2 separate regions of the Homo sapiens genome follow, and region 1 is linked to region 2. Evidence: promoter capture Hi-C in 16 types of primary human blood cells and fetal thymus (Javierre and others, 2016). All regions are on one chromosome and are shown on one strand. Each heading gives the region's core, a stretch centred on a gene start or on the middle of the fragment in contact. The rest is flanking DNA. Distances are from core to core; before and after follow the strand shown. Region 1 overlaps POLQ (DNA polymerase theta). Region 2 holds the start of ZNF148 (zinc finger protein 148).

Region 1 (3,706 bases), core at 608-3,107, 3.8 Mb after region 2:
CCAGGATGGTTTCAAACTCCTGACCTCAAGTGATCCCCCGGCCTTGGCCTCCTAAAATGCTGGGATTACAGGCATGAGCCACCATGCCCAGCCCTTTTCTTCAACTTCGATCATAGCTCCTATCATAATAAAATTGTTCATCTACTTCCTCAAAGCAGGCCTTTTACCCATTTGGTACTTAAAGGAAAGGATCTTTAGGTATAAACTAGGTACTCAGTAGTATTCATCATATTGCTGATATAAAGATTTATTTACTCTGTTTTTAGTTGAGACTATTAAGACAGGTGGTTTAAAGTAAAGGGCATTTCAGGGTATAAAGATTTTAAGTGCTATTGGGCCCTTAGTGATTGGTTAGCCTTAGGCTCTGTAGTACTACACATGGCTTAAAACATTTATTAATGAATTGTACCGAATATTACTTTTTTCTTATAATCTTGTGGAATAATCATGTTTTAGCTCCTACAAGTGCTGGGAAGACTCTTGTGGCAGAATTACTTATTTTGAAGCGGGTTTTGGAAATGCGGAAGAAAGCTTTGTTTATTCTTCCCTTTGTTTCTGTGGCTAAAGAGAAGAAATACTACCTCCAGGTAATGTTTTTTACTAAGTTTGAAATAGTGAAAGGCTCATTATTGGCAGTCTTGGTTTCATTCATTTGAAATAGAATTATAAAAGCAAGTGGAAAACAAAGTTTCTTCATTGTGCCCTATGTAGCTTTAAGAGGCTACTGCCAAAAGCATTAAAAATTTACAGCAAGGGGCTGGGTGTGGTAGCTCACGCCTGTAATCCCAGCACTTTGGGAGGCCAAGGTGGGCGGATCATCTGAGGTCAGGAGATCGAGACCAGCCTGGCCAACATGGGGAAACCCCATCTCTACTAAAAATACAAAAATTAGCTGGGTGTTGTGGCGCACACCTGTAATTCCAGCTACTCGGGAGACTGAGGCTTGAACCTGGGAGGTGGAGGTTGCAGTGAGCCGAGATCACGCTATTGCACTCCAGCCTGGGCAACAGAGTAAGACTCTGTCTCAAAAAAAAAAAAATTAAAAAAATTTACAGAAGGAAATTAAAAGAAAATTATTATTGCATTAAGGAGAAGGGGCCATCAAATCAAAAGAATAATTGGTGAAAATTGTGTAAAAATTTGTAAACCTTTTCTTAGGAAATAAACAGAATATTTAAACTAGCATATAAACACGCACATTAAGAATCAGCATTTAACTGAACAGTAGGACTAGACTGAAGCATAGAAAGGAAAGAGTGTTTAAGGAAGTGTATCCTGCCCTAATTGAGGACTATTTAGGAATATTTAGGGGATGAAGGTCAAGATCCATTGGTGCTTAGGTAAAGCTCCAGGTATGTGATCTGTTCCTCTGTTCTGCAAAAATGACTAATAGTAGTTTACATCAATATGATGCTCACAGTTTTTAGGGCATTTTCACAAATACAATATTTTATTAAATGGAATAAATTTACTGTTGTGATTTCTGCAGTGAAAAATATGTGCTTTTGAAATGGAAAGATTGTTATACTGATTGTTAAAGAAATGTGGGTTCTAGTCCCAGTTTTGCCACTAACTATGTCTTTAGGCCGGGCATATAACTGGCTGGGCCTCAGTTTTTTTATTTGTAAAATTAGGATGTTAACCCTTAGCCCTGTGGGTTAACTTAGTAAACACTCAGGAAAATTTTATTGAATGAATAGCTCTAAATTTCTATGGTTCTATAAATCTTTTTAATAGTTATTTCAGAGGCACAGTAGCCAACAAAGCTGGTCATACATGGTAACATCACTCAACTTAGACCCAAAGTAACGAAATGATGAAAGGATCCTTTTTATTGAAAGGTATGTTAGTTAAAAGTTAAACTAAAAAAAAAAAAATTATTATTAAAGTCCCACTGAATTTGACTTTTAAAAACTTTTCTTCCAATTACATTAAAAAATTGGTCATTAGTAGGATAATGAGACTATTTTCCTCATGAAGTATAAATTTGTTTCTTTAAGTGTTATAGCTAGTTTCTTGCTATTTATTAGATTAAAAATGTTAGTGCTTAAGGTAGTTTTTCTCCAATTTTAATTCCTCTAAATAGCTCTTAGAAGTTTTTAGATTATTATGCTGTCATTAAAATGGCATAATTTTATTTGACTCTTAACAGTTTTGTCAGTTCTAAACTTTATATTTTTAGTATATGATCTAAAAAGAACCAGTGTGTCCTGGCCAGAAACAACTGATGACAGTAATCTGGTAGATGTCTTTAGATACTTATGTCTATGTTCTGGGATAGAACCAGTTTATAACTCTTGAATTTCAAGTTTTTTCACCTGTATTGTTCCTTTTTACTCAATTCAGAGTCTGTTTCAGGAAGTAGGAATAAAAGTAGACGGTTATATGGGCAGCACCTCTCCATCAAGGCATTTCTCTTCATTGGATATTGCAGTCTGCACAATTGAGAGAGCCAATGGTCTGATCAATCGCCTCATAGAGGAAAATAAGATGGATCTGTTAGGTAAGAAAGTTAGAAAATAAGTAAATACTTTCTATTGCTATTTTTGATGGAATGAAGTGGAGCTGTTGTGATTTCTCTAGGTCCCATTTGTTTTCCTATTGTCTATTATCTACTTCTGGAGGCAAGGATTGGCATCTGTAATGTTAGGAACGCTGTGTTTATAAGTTTTGTGTCCTGCTGCTGTTATTGACTCCGTTACGTTGCATTTTTGTACTTTACAAAACGTAGATTATATCCTTGAGCCCTCAATAATTTCTCCTTGCTTCTTTCCTATCTAAACTCTACCAGGAATAGAAGGAGGCCTGCTGGGCCAGATCTGCCATTTTGTGGTTAGTGTATATGGGTTTTTGTTATTATATTCTGCTGCTATGATGTCTATTTTGGGCTTGGACCCAGAGTCTGTCATTTAGCATGGAAATGGTAGGAAGCTAAAGAAACTGACACTCTATTTGAGCTTGGGATTGTGGGAAGATTTTCTATCTTAATGCATTTTTTTGCCATTATGGAAAGGCCATTATGTAGAGGTAGCAACAGGAATAGAAGGATTGCAGCAGCAGAAGTAGCAAGAATATCAGCTAATTATTGAGAAGCTGGTGAACTTAAAAATACCATGGTAAAGTTATGGTAGGGTAGGGGTGGAGGGTGGGAATCAGACATAGGCTATGCTCCATAAAGCTTGGAGAGAGAAATTGCAATTGATTTGTATCAGAATTGTCTTATTACTTGTGACCCCATTGGACTTTAAATATTTGAGAGTTGCAATAGACTCGTAGTAAGTGCTATTTCCAATGTACCTAGCACAGTGCTTGGCACACGGCAGGCAGAATACTTTTTTTTTTTTTTTTTTGGTGAATGAATGAGTAAGTGCTAAAATAACTCATCAGACAGTACAATTTTGGAGACAGCTTATTGATAGGAAAAAGAACATCATGTGTCATTAGGAAGTTTCCTATTGTCTCCTTAAATTCCTTTTCACCAGAAAGTTGTCTTTTGGTGGGGAGAATTTGGGGTGGGGAGAATACCAGTACATGTGGAAACTATGTTGTTATGAAAATGTTTAACTAAAGAAAGTATTAGTTGATACTGAATTTTCAGTAATTCTTAAGAATTATTCCAAGTATATACATTGGTTAAATTCTCCAAGTAGTGAAGGACATTGTGATCATATTTATGTTTTGCAGTATGATGACTCACTAGCTTACC
Region 2 (3,517 bases), core at 948-3,447:
GGCGTCACCCTTGTTATTGATCTTTGTAGTCAAGGATAATTATTTCAAAACAATTATGTAATCCTTTCCATTTTTTCCTTTAAACACCTTTGTCTTCCTTTACATCCCTGAATATGCGGTTAACTGTGATGTGTATATTTTCATTGCAATGCTCTATTCCCAAATAAACATTATTTTCTTTTAGAAAGCCTCTCTGTTATTTAGGTTGACACTGATTTTGATGTCTTACTAGAGCTTTGTAAGATGTCACCATTGGGGAAAGCATGGGACTCTGGACTATTTTTGCAACTTCTTGTGAGTCTATAATTATTTCAAAATAAAAAGTTAAAAAAAAAAAAAAGGAAAAGTAAGTAGGCTGAGTACCTACGGGTGGTGTTTAGGGAAGTGAGCAAGAGGAGCATGGAGAGCCAACCTGAAGCTGAGAAGTTTTTCCAGTTTAACTTATAAAGGACCTAAGCTTGCTCCTCACCATCGCTTTTGCTGTTACTATCCCTGTAGTGCTCTTCGTTCTGCCCATTTTAGACAGCTGTTTCTCTATCGCTTGTTAGGCTGCTGAGCAGAGAACTAGATCTATTCCTAATAGCAAACCAATCAATCCTAGCCCATTGGATGTAACCTCCAGGCCTTGAGCCCTTTTCAGTTATTAGTTTTCCCACTGCCTAATACTGAGAGTCGGCTTTCTTGCTGCCAGAGGTGTTTTTCATTATGACGTCTGAATTTGATGCCACTGCGGGTGCTAGAAGTTGCCAGAAGGCTGTCCTCCAGATAACTGTCCCTTGGCTCTAACTTGTGTCATTGTTTTGTTGCAATTAACATTCAGAATATGTGCGGTCATCTTATTAAAATTTATATTTTTTAATGGAGAAAGCACACAGAGAGAGTTGATTGTGGAGCTGTGGTTTACTCTTGCTCTTAGTTACCTGTGTCTAAATTAAGCTGAACCTCTGGGCCTTAGCTATTTCTAAACAGGCATCACGATTTACTAAGGTTAATGCCTGAGGGAACATTAACCTTGCAGACACTAATCTAATTCAGTGTCATCACAAGTGCATAATGCAGGAGTTTGGAATTTTGCCAAAAAGCACTATTCAAATGAACATTTAGTTGGCAAGGGGTGGGAAGGCGGGTGTGGAAAAGGGAAGGAGAACACCAGAAATGGCTCTATAGATATTTTCATGCCTTTTCTTTTCCCTCTCCCCTCAAAGGTTACGTTTAAGTATTGCAGAGAGGCGCTAAATGGAATCTTCATATTATTATGAAGAAATCCCAATGAACGCGTTTTATCCCACGGCAAGTTCCAGATGCTCACAATTACTCAACATTCACTGAGCATCTTTTATGTTATATGGCTGACCTTGTGCTAGGGTGTGTACACAAAGATGAGTAATTGTAAACGATGGCAGTATGCAGAAGCACCTCAGGGCGCCTAATGTTAGCTGACGAAGGCACCATTAAGGAGGTCACAGTTTGGCTAAAGGGCCCCCAAAGGATGAGACAACTGTGTAATCCTAGCTCTATAGAGATCATTACCAAGTCTTTGCCATACAAAGTTTGGGCTTCAGGTGAAATGAGAAGGGCAAGGTTCTGCCCAAGAGGGTCCAGGGCCGGATCTCTTGATCTGTGTCTATGCCCACACCCTGCATCTCAGCTTGCAGACACTAATAGGGTTTGCCAGTTTCAAGGGCGCAGGGCTACATCTTCCGGAAAAGGTGGCATTTGAAGGTGGTAAGAGGCCAACGACTGGAGGTGGCGGCGAAGGGCTAGGTAAGACAGAATAAATGAAAAAGCCAAGACATTTCTGGCAAATAACCTTTCACCTAGGTCCCCGACCCTTCCATTTCCCCAGGCCTGAAACGCTCCCGAATCCCCGAGTCCTCCACTTTCCAAGCGCTGGGCATTGGTTAAGGCTGTAGGAGCAGGGAGTCCCCCGCTCTAAGAGAGTTCCTCAGTTCCGATCTTTTTCAAACCGCTTTCCTCCCAGGCCCAGCCTGGGGGGCCTGCGGCTCGGGTCCAGCTTCCACGGCCACCCTGGGCTGGTGACACGCAGGCGCCGGAATCGAAGCCACGCTGTGTCTTTCCAGCCAGGTCTCTGCGCCAGACGAGGGCGGGCGCCGCGGAGCGCTTCCCGTGTGCGGGGCTTCCCACAATGCACCGGGCCGGCAGTGGCGGCGACCGCGGCGGCGCTCTAGCTGCGGCATGTCTGCGTCTCTACTGCTCTGGGAGGAGGAAGAGAAGGAGGAAGAGGAGGAGGAGGAGGAGGGGGAGGAAGAGGAGAAAGGCGCAGGGGTGGGAGCTGTTGCCGAAGCTGCCACAGCAAAAGTTCTCCCCCCTCCCCCCTTCCCCTCCTCTCAAGGCCCCTAGAAAGGTTGGAGCTGCCGCCGCCTGCAGTCGGTGACCGCGCGACTCGGCGCCCGCCCGCGGTAAAGCGCTCGGCCTGGCAGGCCCGGGCCCGGGGGAGGGCGGGGGAGGGGGAGGGGGCGGCGCGCGGGGGGAGCGCGCGGCGGTAACGGCCTGACCCCGGGGGGAGCGAGCCGTGGCGAGGCTGGGGGTGGCCAGGGGGCCAGCCGAGGCCGAGGGAAACGCTGGGGCTGGCTGGGGGACGTGAGGAAGCAGGGCGCGGAGGGTGGGTTGGGGGGTTGAGGAGGGATAATGACGGGGGTGGCGGAGGCGAGAAGGCGGCCTCCGAGGCTGGAGGCGGGTGTCAGAGGTAGGGGAGGAGGTGGGATGTTTGCACGGGGAGGCCGGAGGGTGCTGGGTGTGGGTGTGAAAAGGCTAGGGAGACACCAGGGCTCTGTCCACCGTGCCTGGTGCAGTGCTTTATGCACCGCAGGCCTCAGTCACTGTTGCTGCCGGAGTGTGCTCTTTGGGAGAAGGGAAGGGCAGGGGTTGGAGAAAAGGGAATGCTTGCAGGAAACGTAGTGGGAGTGCGAACAGGGCGAGGGGCCGGAGGAAAGATGCCGGAGAGGTGGAGGAATGCGGGGAGGTGGCTGTGGAGGAGTCTTGAGGATTCTGGGGGGTGTTCATTGTGCAGATACGTTAGGTATTTCATTATGGAAAGAACTGAAGCGTTTCTCAGGGAAGGAAAGAAGGGAGATAGGAGTTCCCGTGAATAGAAAGGATCGCGTTTGAAGCAAGAGGGAGTGCTAAATAGTAGAGAAGATGCAGGGAATGCATAATAGAATAGACAGATGTAGTATAATTAATAAATATTGGCCTAAGTACTGAAGAGTTATTCCAGATGGGCCGGGATGGCCTAGTTCCGAACCTGTGTGGGCTGTTCAGTAGATGACATCTGGTAAGTGTGGGTCTGGGCCGTGGTTGGGGTCACTGAGAATTAGATTTTAGTCTGTAGTTTGGTCTGTGACATTTTAGACGTGCACCAATGAGTATGAGAACCTCTGAAGCAGACCTTGAGAAAGGGTCTGGCCTGTGGGGATTCCTTAGGCTATGGAGCTTCGATTTTAGAAAATTTGAAGTATTAACACTTACCCGAGGTTGGGTAAATACTATCCTGGCA

What was found. The method cuts DNA at HindIII sites, captures the fragments that hold promoters and counts their contacts. A CHiCAGO score of 5 or more calls a contact.
Region 1: a contact is called between a fragment that was not itself captured here and the fragment with the promoter of ZNF148 in region 2, in 1 of 17 cell types (neutrophils). The highest score is 5.0, in neutrophils.

The regions. Positions count from the first base shown.
Region 1 is chr3:121,538,230-121,541,935 of GRCh38, reverse strand. POLQ (DNA polymerase theta) reads left to right here. Exons shown (of 30, transcript NM_199420.4): 3 at 457-587; 4 at 2,347-2,503. Among named protein-coding and RNA genes, the nearest start is that of POLQ, 5.9 kb to the left of the region's middle. The HindIII fragment of the contact is 2,647 bases long and covers 534-3,180 here.
Region 2 is chr3:125,374,005-125,377,521 of GRCh38, reverse strand. It overlaps ZNF148 (zinc finger protein 148), which reads left to right and starts at 2,197. Exons shown (of 9, transcript NM_021964.3): 1 at 2,197-2,420. LOC105374080 (a long non-coding RNA gene) reads right to left here and starts at 2,096. Exons shown (of 3, transcript XR_924427.3): 1 at 470-2,096. RefSeq lists enhancers at 1,873-1,922, 2,033-2,302 and a silencer at 2,413-2,462. The HindIII fragment of the contact is 7,036 bases long and covers 460-3,517 here.